Linked DNA regions of Homo sapiens: regions 2 and 3 are each linked to region 1. The links are contacts of gene promoters, found by promoter capture Hi-C in human tissues and cell types (Jung and others, 2019). All regions are on one chromosome and are shown on one strand. Each heading gives the region's core, a stretch centred on a gene start or on the middle of the fragment in contact. The rest is flanking DNA. Distances are from core to core; before and after follow the strand shown. Region 1 holds the start of RAB40B (RAB40B, member RAS oncogene family). Region 2 overlaps TBCD (tubulin folding cofactor D). Region 3 overlaps FOXK2 (forkhead box K2).

Evidence for each region. Contacts are between HindIII fragments. The study calls those that stand out against the background at their distance.
Region 2: a fragment that was not itself captured here is called in contact with the fragment with the promoter of RAB40B in region 1 in 2 of the 25 tissues and cell types used here (small bowel and thymus).
Region 3: a contact is called between a fragment that was not itself captured here and the fragment with the promoter of RAB40B in region 1, in 1 of the 25 tissues and cell types used here (dorsolateral prefrontal cortex).

The regions. Positions count from the first base shown.
Region 1 is chr17:82,696,396-82,700,848 of GRCh38, forward strand. It overlaps RAB40B (RAB40B, member RAS oncogene family), which reads right to left and starts at 2,303. Exons shown (of 6, transcript NM_006822.3): 1 at 2,060-2,303. The coding sequence starts at 2,201. RefSeq lists silencers at 2,032-2,461, 2,482-2,871. The HindIII fragment of the contact is 28,650 bases long and covers 1-4,453 here.
Region 2 is chr17:82,885,069-82,889,521 of GRCh38, forward strand. The region is part of intron 15 of TBCD (tubulin folding cofactor D); the gene reads left to right. Among named protein-coding and RNA genes, the nearest start is that of ZNF750, 47 kb to the left of the region's middle. RefSeq lists an enhancer at 13-811. The HindIII fragment of the contact is 6,882 bases long and covers 1-4,453 here.
Region 3 is chr17:82,550,130-82,554,582 of GRCh38, forward strand. The region is part of intron 1 of FOXK2 (forkhead box K2); the gene reads left to right. Among named protein-coding and RNA genes, the nearest start is that of FOXK2, 33 kb to the left of the region's middle. RefSeq lists silencers at 1,744-2,038, 3,216-3,387 and an enhancer at 2,125-2,749. The HindIII fragment of the contact is 6,006 bases long and covers 1-4,453 here.

The DNA of each region.
Region 1 (4,453 bases), core at 1,053-3,552:
CAAACTCAACACTGTCAACCGTCTGCTCCCCCAAAACACGCACAGCTCTTAAAGCGCCATATTCGTCTGGGCGTACACGTTGTTGGGTGCTTTATTCCTGTAGCTCTGGTAGGGTTCATCCCTCACTGAGCCCAGACCCCGAGGGCACAGTGCAGACAAAGCCCTGTCCTCCAGGCGCTCAATCTCCAGCCCTGTCCTCCAGGCGCTCAATCTCCAGCCCTGTCCTCCAGGCGCTCAATCTCCAGCCCTGTCCTCCAGGCGCTCAATCTCCAGCCCTGTCCTCCAGGCGCTCAATCTCCAGCCCTGTCCTCCAGGCGCTCAATCTCCAGCCCTGTCCTCCAGGCGCTCAATCTCCAGCCCTGTCCTCCAGGCGCTCAATCTCCAGCCCTGTCCTCCAGGCGCTCAATCTCCAGGGCAGCGCTGGCCCTCGGACTTTGCCACAGCGACATCCGAACTATCTAGAAATGTGACGAATGGAAGCTTTTTGTTTTCTTTCCTTCTAATTACACTTCCACAGCCACACGTGGCTCATGGCATCCTACTGGACACCACGGTCCTAGAGACCTGCCACCGAGCGGGGAGGGGGGTAGGACATGCGGGGGCAGCGGCGCCTGGGGACAGGTAGAGACGCAGGCTCCCCTCCTGCCCCACGGAGCACACTCTGCACCCACCAGCTGCCAGAGACTCCCCCGCATGCTGCAGTTTCAGGAGGCCTCTGGGTGCTGGTCGTGAGCCCAAGCCCATCTCAGCTGCTCCCCCAAACTCTGCCCATTCCTCACCCCGTCCCCTAAGCTGAGGTGTGGCCGGGCACCTGAGTCCCACCCCACGCTCCACAGTCTCAGGCCACCCCCTCCAGCCGTGCCACACTCCCTTGGTGCTCACGCCGCCTGCCTGGAGCTGCCCTTAGGGGACAGCCTGCACCCTCTACCGAGCAGCCTCAGATCCCGCTTCCTCCCACCCTCTCCCGCTAAGTTCGTCTCTGGCAGGACCCTGGACCTGGGGCTTCCCAGACCCTTCCCAGGCCCCAGAGCTGACAGGTCCTTCCCACCAAGACTCCATCTCCACGCCCGGCTGCCCTCCTCCGCCCAGGACTCAGAGCGGGTCTCTGTTGGAAGCGTGGGTTCAGCCCCGAGGCGCGGCAGGAAGGTGGGCACAGGCTGGGCTCCTTCCACAGCCTCAGGGTCGGCCTCGTCCAAGCTGTTCCAGGGATGCGCGTGGGTGAAGGCCCCGCCTGCTCCTCACTCCCAGCCGAGGTGTTCGCCTCTGCGCGTTCCCCCTTCTCCTGGGTTCCTGCCCCCGCCTTTCTTTCCCCGGAGCCGTCCACCCCCTCGCCGGGCGCCGGCTTTCAAGCCTCAAACTTGGGGGATCCCCGGGCTGCCTGCCTGGGAGCTCTGGGCGCTCCGGCCTCCCCTCGCCCTGGAACCCGCTCTCCGGCCGCTGTCGTGGGGGGTCCCCTCTTCCGCACGCGAGTCACCTGTGCTCCTTCCTCTCCCCCGGACACGCGGGACCCCTGGCCTCGGGACCGGACCCTGGTCTCCCCTCCCCTCCGACCCACGCGCAGACCCAGCACCTGGGCGCCTGCTCGCCGCGCTCCGCCCCAGGAGCCCCGGAGCTCGCGTCCCCTCCCGCCCCTCCTGCCCCGCGGCCGAACGCGCACTTGCGGACTCGAGCCCCCGCCCCGGGTCCCCACAGCAGCGGCCCCAGGTCGGGAGGAGCCCAGCGCCCGGCCCAGCCGCGGGCTCCCGCTGCGCGCAGACTGCGGAGAAGGATGGAGACTGCGCCGCGGGGCCTCGAGTGGAACTGGGGGTGCAACAGGGACGCCGCAGCACGAGGGCCAGGGCCGGGCGGAGAAAGGCCCGCCCGCGAACCGCGCTCCTCCTCAGCCCCGCGCCCCCGGACCGGGACTCCTACCCTCCCCGGCCACGCGCCCCGGCCTCTTCCCGACCCCTGCCCGGTCTCGCGTCCCCGGACCCGGACCCCCACCCGCACCCCCTCCCCAGCCCCGCGCCCCTCCCCGGCCCCGCGCCCGCACCCCGGCACGCCCTCCGCCCGCGCTCACCCGCCGGGTGGCCGTACGGGGACTCGGCCGCGCCATCCTGCAGGCTCGCCAGGATCTCGCCCTTGCCCACGTCGCTGTCGCCCACCAGCAGGAACTTGAGCAGAAAGTCGTAGGCCCGGACCGGGCTGCCCAGGGCGCTCATCGTGACGGCCCGGCGCCCCCACCCATGCCCGGCCTGCGGGGCTGAGCGCAGAGGCGGCGGCCCGGCCCCGAGAGGCGCCGCGCGGGCCCCGAGTCCTTGCTCGCCTCCGGCCCCGCCCCGCCGCCCAGCGCTGACAGCGCGCATCCCCGCCCGGCCCCGCCATTGGTGGACCGCAGTTGCTAGGGCAGCTGCGCGCTTTCACTGGCTTGGTTGTCCGTCCATCTTACTCTCGTCACCGCCTCCGGGCTGTCGCCCACCCGCCCCTCCTGAAAGGTCGCTGTCACCACAGCCAATGGAGGCCCGGAGACGGGGCAGGGGCGGAGCCAGAACAAGCAGGAGGCGGGGACTCTGCTCCCGCAGCCAATGGCGGGGCGGGGTGGGGGCGATCAGGGGGTGGGGCCGGGTGTTTACACTCTCGCGTGCGCCCGTGAGCGCCACGAACTCGCTCCCACGGTCGTCGGGTCTGCACGCCCCGAGTCGGGAGGGGCGAGGGGCGGTGCAGGGTCCCAGCGTGGGGCCTCCCCACCTGCCCACCAGGGAGACCTCGGGTGCCTGGCCGGGTGGGGCTCGGGGTCGGTCCAGTTGGCGGACGCGGCCGGAAGGCCCCCGCAGGCCGCCTCGCCGGAGGAGTCCCTGTCGCCGTAGAATCCAGGCTCGCGGTCTCTCCCCACGGTTCATCCAGGGCCTCGTCGTTGCCCCATTTACGCGGCGTGCCTGAATGCCTGTGTGTGCACATGCGCCTGTGTACGTGTGCATGTGTTCGTGTGTGTGCATGTCTGCGTGTGCATGTGTGCCTCTGCAGATATCTGCACATGTATGTGTCTGCGTGTGCATGTGTCCCTCTGCAGGTGTCTGCACATCTATGTGTCTGCGTGTGCATGTGTCCCTCTGCAGGTGTCTGCACATGTATGTGCGTGTGCATGTGTCCCTCTGCAGATGTCTGCACATCTGTGTGTCTGCGTGTGCATGTGTGCCTCTGCAGGTGTCTGCACATGTATGTGCGTGTGCATGTGTGCCTTTGCAGGCATCTTTGCATGTGTGTGTCTGCGTGTGCTGCTTCTATGCATGCGCTCCTATGTGTGCGTGCGCTTGTTTGTGCATCCATGCATGTGTTTGCGTGCGTGCTGGAGGAGAGCATTGGGTGGGACCCTCCAGCCTTTTGGCTTCTCCTCTGCTCTAGAGAGCAAGGGTTGCCAGGCCGAGGTCTGCCCTTCGCTCTGAGGGTCTCACCAGGTGCACATTGGTTTATTTGGTGCAGAATTCAGGCAGCAGGCAAAGGGCGAGCTCCGTCCAAGAAGAAGGATAATGCCCCCACTACTTCATCCCCTCCACCCTGCGTTGTGTAGGGAACTGCTCTAGACCCCATTAGAAGTTTTTTGTGGGGGAGGAACAGAAGAGGGAGCGGAAGAAGAATTACAAAAGAGACTGAAGTCAAGATTATTATATTTGTCATTTGCATTCATTTGGACCTAGAAAATGTTTACTTTGGAATGCCAATTTAGTTTGCAACACCTGTTATTCATTGGTTGATTAGTTGCTTTAGTTACTAATGCAGCCACATTTTTTTTTTTTTGAGACAGAGTCTTGCTCTGTTGCCCAGGCTGGAGTGCAGTGATGTAATCTTGGCTCACTGCAACTTCCACCTCCTGGATTCAAGCCTCCCAAGTAGCTAGGATTACAGGCATGTGCCACCACACCCAGCTAATTTTTGCATTTTTAGTAGAGATGGGATTTTGCCATGTTGGCCAGGCTGGTCTTTGACTCCTGACCTCAAGTGATCGACCTCGGCCTCCCAAAATGCTGGGATTGCAGCACTGTTTTTTTTTAGAAGGAAGGTCAGAGGAAGAAAAGAGGATGGAAGGTGGACGCTAGAAAACTATGAGAAAGATGGCATTTAGTCCCCAGCCCCACCACTCTGCCAAAAAGAATTCAGGGGAGTTTCCTTCCCATCCCTAACCCTCAGTCTCCATGTTCCAATCAGCTGTGGGTCACATGGCTATTACCTAGTGAGGAAAGGGTACCTTCTTTTGCTCGCTCCCCACCTACACATCCAGACTCACTGTACAATAGGGGTCAGGAGGCCCCCAGCCCACCCTCGGGGTCACACCCAGCAGTCCAGCAGTGTTCACGGTGGGGCATGGAGAGGGGTGGCCAGACCACTTCCTACAGAGGACAGGTGATGGGGGAGCCCTTGTCTGCTCTTCTCCTGCCCCACAGAAGGTCCTCACCACCTCCTAGTTGTCACCTCCAAG
Region 2 (4,453 bases), core at 706-3,205, 190 kb after region 1:
AGTGGGAACCTGTTGAGGGAGCCGTTCACACTCCCTGATACTGTCAGACTTGGGGGCCAGTGGACCAGGTGGAAGGGGTGCTGGGACTGGTGAGGGTTTCCTGTCAGCCCTGCAGTGTGTGGCCCCTGGTGAGTGGGACCAGGCGGAAGGGGTGCTGGGACCGGTGATGGTTTCCTGTCAGCCCTGCAGTGTGTGGCCCCTGGTGAGTGGGGCCGTGCAGGTGCAGTGTTGGTTCTCTCTCTCTCTCAAATGCAGGAGCTCAGATGATACCCTGAAGTCTTTCTAGCTCAAAATGTCTGTCATCTTCTATAGCTTCTGGTGGTCTGCCTGCTCTCTGTATCCTGAAGTAGTTAGAAGTCTTTCTCTGCCTCAGGTCCTTTAAAACTAGAGAGAATTCACCAGGAGAGCTCAGAAGCTCTTCTCTGTCCCTGAAGCTGCTCTTATTTTGTCTTCAGCATCAGTAAAAACCTCATAATTTTTTGGGGAAATCATCACATTTTTGCCCTGCTATTTACCCAAAGGCAGTAAATGTAAGACTTTGAAATATAATACAATTTTATGTTAAATCTGTACTTAAATTAAGCTTTTAGATTTTCTTTACTGCAACCTAAGACATTTCATGGGAAGCAGTAATAAAATTAAAGTACTTAGGCTTCTATGAACCCTGAATATGAAGTGAAATAATATAAATCATTTTTCACATTAAAATCCCTTTAAATTGGCAATAAATCTTTTCTGATAAATACCACCGAGTGCACCTAGCTTACCCTGTAGCTTGCAAAATTAAAACAGCCAAAGGTAAAAGACACCTTTTTGAAGCTTAGTTGGAAATGTGAGGATTGAGGGCCTCATAATTGGGAATCATTTTTTGGAGCTGCTGCTTTCAGATAACAATGTCTCGGTCTTTCTGGCTCAGCTTGGCTTCCTGTTTGACGCTGTGTCACTGGGTGAGGTCACCCCTGTGAGGCCCTGAGGCCTCTTCAGCACCGGCCAGGAGGCAGCAGCAAAAGGCGTTGAAGTCCTGTCCCTCCTTGGGGCTGGACACGGTCCCTTGCCCCTGAACTCTAGACGCCCTGCATTGCCCTGGTGCTCCCATGTCAAGACTGGCCGCGGTCGTCCATCCCATGGTTTGTGACCCTCCCAGCAACGCTGTGAGGAAGGTGCTGCAGCTGGTTCTCAGCATTGGCAGGAGCATGGCGACTCAGGCAGTCAGTGTGTGAGTGAGTTTGTGAAAACAGTTCCAGCTGTGTTCGTTGCTGAATGCTGGTTTTTCTGCATATTGGAAGGAATCTAGCAGACCCCCAAACGTGCTGACATTGCAAGAAGACATGTCTCCCGGCGGGGAAGGAATGGGCAGTAGAGATGGGGTGTGGTCGTGGCTTCTTGTTCATCATGAGGAAGGGAGATGGGGCCCCGTTCACTCACAGTTAAAGTAAAGGCACTTAAAGCCTACATTTAACTGAGAAGATTTTAAATCTTTTTCTTCCAGCATTTCGTTTGATACATAGTGTCTGACCTCTATTTGTGACTTTTTATTTTGGGATAATTGAGATTTATATGCAGTTTTCTCCCCTCCCCTCCCCTCCCCTCCCCTCCCCTCCCCTCCCCTCCCCTCCCCTCCCCTCCCCTCCCACTCTGTCACCCAGGCTGGAGTGCAGTGGTGCGATCTTGGCTTATTGCAACCTCGGCCTCCCGGGTTCAAGCAGTTCTCCTGCCTCAGCCTCCCGAGTAGCTGGGATTACAGGCGTGCACCACCATGCCCGGCTACTTTTTGTATTTTTAGTAGAGACGGGGTTTCACCATGTTGGCCAGGATGGTCTCGAACTCCTGACCTGAAGTGATCTGCCTGCCTCGGCTCCCAAAGTGCTGGGATTACAGACGTGAGCCACTGTGCCTGGCGGAGATTTACATGGAGTTTTAAAGACTAATGCAGGGAGAGCCCATGCGTGTTTCACCATTGCCTCCATGATGAAATCTGGCAAAACCGCAATGGAACATCACAGCCTAGAACATTGAGCCAACCCACCAGTCTTATTCCTTCTTCCTTGGTTTTACCTGTACTCTGTGTGTGTGTGTGTGTGTGTGTGTGTGTGTGTGTGTGCGCGCGCGCGCACGTGCGCTCACGCGTTTACTTCTGTGTGATTGTATCACATACAAATTCACGTATCCACCACCACAATCAGGATACACAGCAGCCCTGTCTTCCCGAGAGGCCTGTGCTACTGCTTTGCCCACAGTCCCTGCTGTTTCCCTCTCCTGACCCTTGGCAGCCACCGGTCGGCTCTCCGTTGCCTATTCTATTCTGTCATCTCGAGAATGCTGTGTAAATGGACTCTGTGGCCTCTAATGCTGTAGCTTTCTTCTCTCGGCACAGCTCTCTGGAGACCCACCCCGAGCGTGGTGGGTGGTGCTGGTTTGCTGCTTCTGTTGCTGAGTGGTGCCGTGGTTTGTGTGACCATTCATGTATTACGACATCAGGATGGTTTCTAGTCTTTAAGCTGCTGTAAACATTCGTGCTCAGGTTTTCGTGTGAGTGTAACTTCCATTTCTCTGGGTTAAATGCCAGGAGTAGTTTCTGGGTCGTGGTAGTTGGACATTTAAACTGCTTTCTAGAGCAGCTGCACCATTCACGTTCGCACCACCACCTGCCCGCAGCCCTGCCTTTCTCTGTCCTCGCTTGTGTCTGACATGGCCACTGTTTTCTGTGTCGGCCTTTTTGACAGGCATGTGGTGATACGTCGTTGTGGTCTTTACCTGCGTTTCTGTCATGCCTGATGGTGTGGAGCATCTTTCACGGGCTTACTTGCCGTCTGTACCTCCTCTTTGGTGAAATGTCTGCTCAGGTCTTTTACTCATTTCTAAGTGGATTGTTTTTTGTAGTTCTTGAGTTTAGGGCACTCTTTACATATGTAGGATTCTGGTCCTCTGTTGGATTTGCGTTTGGCTTTCTCCCAGTCTGTAGCTCATCTTTCCGTCCTCTTCATAGGGCAAGAGTTTTTAATTTTTTAATTTTGCTGGGGTCTCGATCAGTTTTTTGTTTTTGTGGCTCATGTTTTTAGTGCTTTTTAAGACGTGAAGACTTTCTTAAGGTCTGGGAACTCCACCTCGCCCGGTCCCGGGGATGCTGTCCCGTGTTTTCTGTTCTGCTGGTTGGTCTGCGTGTCTGTTCTGCCAGCGCACACTGTGTGACGGGCTGTGCTGCGATGCTGCTGTGCATAGTCAGCCTTCGCACTGGGCAGGGAGATGCCTCCCAGCGTCTTCTTTCTCAGGACTGTTTTCCCTGTTTTAGGGCTTGTGCTTTTCCACATAAATCTTGAATTTTTAAAACATCTTTTAGATACCACTGGAATGGTACATGTCTTCCTAATAGTGTATGTTAAATTGATGTTACAGTATATCTTTGTTGCATTGCCTTTTGGCGGGTTTTGTTTCTTACTTTCCTAATGAATTTATCACAAAAGTTACAAATTTGCAAAGCAGCAGTCAGGCCTCCTCCCAGCCTGCTGTGAAGCGCCTGTTTCCTCCAATCTCCAGCCCAGCCCAGGGGTCTGCCTTGGAGCCACCCGCACGTCTGGTTTCTGTGTGATTGGCCAGAGGTGGTGGGCGCGTCTGCTCCTTTTCCCTGGGGGGTGGGGGCACAGACCCTGGGTGGCTGTGTTCGGCTCCTTACTTGGTGCCCGTCTGTGTGTGCTCCTCCCAGCAGCCATCGCTCAACCTTGCTCTCAGGAAGCCCCCAGGCGAGTGTTGGCAGGAATCCTGCCAGGCGGGAGGTCGCTCCTCCAGAGCGTGGTCCCTGAAGCCGCCAGCCTCCCTGGCCTCGCCCCTTGCTGGTGGTGTGTGTGGTGTGGCCGTGGGTGCACTTTGCTGGGTCTTCCTGGGACACTGAAGTCTCCTGTGTCTCCAGCCCTGAGAACTCGGAGCCCGGGTGCTTTTGGGAAGGACGGGGCACCAGCTGGTGACACATGGGAAGGGAGGTGTGGTTGTCACCTTGCCCAGGTAACCTGCTCTGCCTGGTCGGTGCGCCTAAGGGGGGCAGGGTGTTTGGGGAGGACATGAGAGGCCTCCTGGAAGCACTTCATCCTGTTGAAGTTCACATTTTGACCTTTTCAGCAGCCCTTGCTCTGGGCCTGTGCCCGGCCCTGGGACTCGGCCTGGAGAGCCTATTGACACCGTGCCATGGGTGCGGGCAGGGCGCCCTCCCTGGAGGGCGGCACGTGGTGCCAGTTGGTGACCATGAGCTGCCTCACTCCTGAGGAAGAGTGTTCGGGCTCTGGGCTTTGATTTAACCTGCCTGTCTGTCTCTCTGAGTTGACAGCCGGGGCCTCCGCGTGGGTGCTGCTGGGAGGCTCAGTGGTAAAGGCCACTTTTCAGGATGTGTCTGATTTTATAAACTTGAATTCTTAAATTGTGGTTTTAAAGAGCACCAGGACGTAAAAACAGAGTGACGCACCTT
Region 3 (4,453 bases), core at 1,021-3,520, 150 kb before region 1:
GCAGTGAGCCATGATTGTGCCACTGCCTTCCAGCCTGGGCGACACTGCAAGACCTTGTCTCTAAACAAACACACACACACACACACAAAGAGCTTCTTTATGTCTTCTGTGGATTCCTGGCCTGCCATAGTGTTTTTAATTTGCCACTTGACTTCAAGCTTTCCCAGGAATACGTGTCTGAAGCAAGGCACCCCTGTTCACACCCCACCAGGGACATTGGACAGTTGTGGGGGAAGAAGGGGGTGCAGGAGCAAGATGGGCTGTGTCCCATTGAACTTCACTACAGAACACCAATTTAAAGATAAATGATTAGGGATTTCAAGATGTTGGCAGTAAGGCATTAAACTCCATGCCTGGCCCTTCTGAGGCGGGCTTTTTTTTTTTTTTTTTTGAGATGGAGTCTTGCTCTGTCCCCCAGGCGGGAGTGCAGTGGCGCAATCTCGGCTCACTACAAGCTCCGCCTCCCGGGTTCACGCCATTCTCCTGCCTCAGCCTCCCGAGTAGCTGGGACTACAGGCGCCCGCCACCACGCCCGGCTAATTTTTGTTGTATTTTTTAATAGAGACAGGGTTTCACCATGTTAGCCAGGATGGTCTCGATCTTCTGACCTTGTGATCCGCCTGCCTCAGCCTCCCAAAGTGCTGGGATGACAGGTGTGGGCCACGGCGCCGGCCCTGAGGTGGGCTTTGTGCAGCTGTGCTGGCCACACAAGCCTGAAACCGGCCTTGTCTGTATGGAAAAGTTCTGTGTCAAAACTAGGTGGTTTCTAAGTCACTGTGAAGCACTGCGTGCAGTAAGCGTGCGTCACTGAAAGATGACACTTGCAAGCCAGTACTGAGCCGGGTCGTTAGGTGTCAAAGCCTGTTTTAAGCTTCGGAGGCTTAGGTTAGAAGATTTGTGCTGAAAGGCCGGAAGTGGTGGCTCACGCCTGTCATCCCAGCACTTTGGGAGGCCGAGGCGGGCGGATCACAAGCTCAGGAGACTGAGACCATCCTGGCTAACACGGTGAAACCCCGTCTCTACTAAAAATCCAAAAAATTAGCCGGGCGTGGTGGCGGGCACCTGTAGTCCTAGCTACTCGGGAGGCTGAGGCAGGAGAATGGCGTGAACCTGGGAGGCGGAGTTTGCAGTGAGCTTAGATTGCACCTCTGCACTCCAGCCTGGGCGATAGAGCGAGACTCCATCTCAAAAAAAAAAATTAAAAAAAAAATAAAAATAAACATGATGGCATGTCATGAGTTTTGAAGGATAAGAAGTTAAAGCTGGCCAGGCACGGTGGCTCATGCCTGCAATCCCAGCACTTTGGGAGGTCAAGGCGGGTGGATCACCTGAGGTCAGGAGTTTGAGACCAGCCTGGCCATCATGGTGAAACCCTGTCTGTACTAAAAAAAATTACAAAAAATTAGCCAGGTGTGGGGACATGTGCTTGTAGTCTTAGCTACTTGGGAAACTGAGGCAGGAGACTCACTTGAACTTGAGAGATGGAGGTTGCAATGAGCTGAGATCACGCCACTGCATTCCAGCCTGGGCAACAGAGCGAGTCTATCTAAAAAATAAAAATAAAAAACATAAAAATTTGAGGCTGAGGTGATAGTTGCTGCTTGAGGTTTATTGCTGATGACAAAGTGTGGGCTATTTAGGGTTTCTAATGTATTTCTCATTGTCTTAAACGGTCTTCAGCTCTGTCAAGCTGTTTATTTGTAATTTATGTGCTTTAAGATGACACTTGCCACTCAGACCTCCTCCAAGGAGGGGCAGGGGAGCCCATTCCTGGGCCTGGCACGGTGCTCCACCTCCTGCACACCCCTTTCTGGGGCAGGTCCTTGGACTGTGGGGAAGCACCTGCTGCACTCTGGGTGGTGGCAGCCTTGGGCCCTGGGCTCCCCCTTGTGGAGTCCTCAGGGTGTGAGGCACCATAAAATTATTCAAAAAATGAAGTGGCTTCCAAACACTCTCCATGTCCGCACTCCCCTCGCGGTGGACCAAGGCACACGCTCCCAGCCTGGCCACAGGCCTAGACTAGTGTTGAGGTTTGCATTGGACATGTTGAAGGCTTACAAATGTTTTTCTTTTTCTTTTGAAATTACTTCAGAATTAAAGCAAAATTGCAAAAATAGTACAGAGAACTTCCGTTTTCCCAGATTCCCACTCCGTTAGTGTTTCACCAAACCCGCATGTTCAGTCTCTCTCCCTCTCCTTAAACATTCGAGGGGCAGTTGCAAAGGTGACGCTTTCCCTGCAGGCATCCTCTTCTGTGCCTGCCCTGGTGAGAACTGCTATGGCAACTGTGTCCTAATGGCCGACCTTCTCCAGGCTTCACCCACCGTCGCTCCTGCCCTTCACTGATAGGCCCTGTGTCACACTGAACCCTCCTGTCGCTTTAATCCTCTTCTATGTGTGGCCATCCTCAGCCTTTGTCTTCTGTGACATTGATATTTTTGAAGAGCACAGCATTAGTGATTTCGTCGAACGTCCCTCAGTTAGGATTTGTTGGATGTTTCCTCTTGATTAGATCTAGGTTAGTTACCTTTGGCAGGAACTCTAGAGGTGAAGTTGTGTCCTCTCAGGGCACCATGGCCGTGTTACCCTGGTGTCGTTTTGTGCCGTGGACAATGATGCTGGCTGTGAGCACTTGGCTGAGGTGGTTGAAGAGCAGCATCCCAAACAGGGCTCTGGAGTGCAGAGTGACCTCTGCAGCCACTCTGCTCAAGCGTCTCCGCGTGCTCTGCAAGGCTCCAAACCGGAGAGGTGCTCTGTAGGTCACCCCGTTACGTAAAATCACAGACTGGAAAGAGTTTGTTAGATTTTCTTTCTTTTTTATTTTTGGAGACAGTCTTGCTCTGTTGCCGAGGCTGCAGTGCAGTGACATGATCTCGGCTCATTGCAACCTCTGCCTCCTGAGTTCAAGCGATTCTCCTGCCTCAGCCTCCGGAGTAGCTGGGATTACAGTCACGCGCCACCACACCTGGCTGATTTTTGTATTTTTAGTAGAGATGGGGTTTCACTATGTTGGCCAGGCTGATCTCGAACTCCTGAGCTCAGGTGATCTGCCTGCCAAGGCCTCCCAAAGTGCTGGGATTACAGGCGTGAGCCACCGTGCCCAGCCAGACTTGTTTTTTAAACAGGCAGAAAGGAGCTCACCCATGGAGCATTTTTTCTGAGTCGCCTGAGTTATCTGTGTCACGGCAGAAAAGGACGTCAGGAGTCTGGGGGAAGCAGGGCCATCCTGGAGGCCACAGCCCAGGCAGGTGCCAAGGCCAAAGGCAGCTCTTCTGTGCTTGCCTCTCAGAGTGGGACTGCCTGGGACCAGACCTGCTGCTCCTGAGCTGTGTTGGCCCTGGCCTTGTCTCCTCTGCATGTCAAGGACACATGACCTGCTTGAATGGCAGGGGCTTTTGTTATGCAGGTTCCCAGCCATGCCGTCACTCCACAGAAGCACAAACATGGTTTTCGGGGACTTTGGATGTTTCTGGAGGGGTCTGACTCTGGGTCTGTGTTCATGAGATCCACATTCACAGGCGTGGCTGCGAAGAGGCCCCTAGACCTTGGGATGTGTGCTGAGCCCTTAAGACATGAACCACCACTAGAATCGGCTAAGCTCCAGGGACACAGCAGTTGCGCCTGTGGTGGAGATTGTCCCAGACGGACGTTTGTCCCGTTGCTGTGACGCAGATGGTGGATGGGCTGTGGGGCTGCTTTCAAGTACTTTTTTTTTTATTTCCCGAGATGGAGTCTTGCTCTGTTGCCAGGCTGGAGGGCAGTGGCGTGATCTCAGCTCACTGCAGTCTCCGCCTCCCAGGTTCATGCCATTCTCCTGCCTCAGTCTCCCGAGTATTTGGGACTACAGGCGCCCACCACCACGCCTGGGTAATTTTTGTATTTTTAGTAGAGATGGGGTTTCACCATGTTAGCCAGGATGGTCTCGAACTCCTGAGCTTGTGATCCGCCCACCTCGGCCTCCCAAAGTGCTGGGATTACAGGCGTGAGCCACCGGACGTGGCCTCAAGTACTTTTTTGAAACTGGTTGTAGGGAATAGTTTGACAAATCGGCTAGTTGGTTGAACTTGCTTTGCATAAAGAGACATCACTAAATATAACTCTCCTTAAAGTTGGGGACTTATTTAAATCTGATTCATTTCTGTGGGGCTGTATGATGTTGGTTAATACTGAAGTCTTGCAACAAAGTCTGGCTTTGTTCCTAAGGAACCTGTCTTTGGAGTCCTTAGAGCTTCTTCGTGAGTCTGTTAATTCATAAACTCCAGACCATTGGCCTGCACGTTGCATTTGTAATAATTTCCATTCCCACAAGAAACTAGAACAGGAGAATGAGAGAGCCAGGCTGGGAGAAGGATGTTTGCGACACTGAATCCAGTTTAAGTTGTTGGTTTGTTCAAGTGAAGGAAATGGAATTTTTATCAGGGCCCTCTGAACAGGTTTGAAACTTTACTTAGGG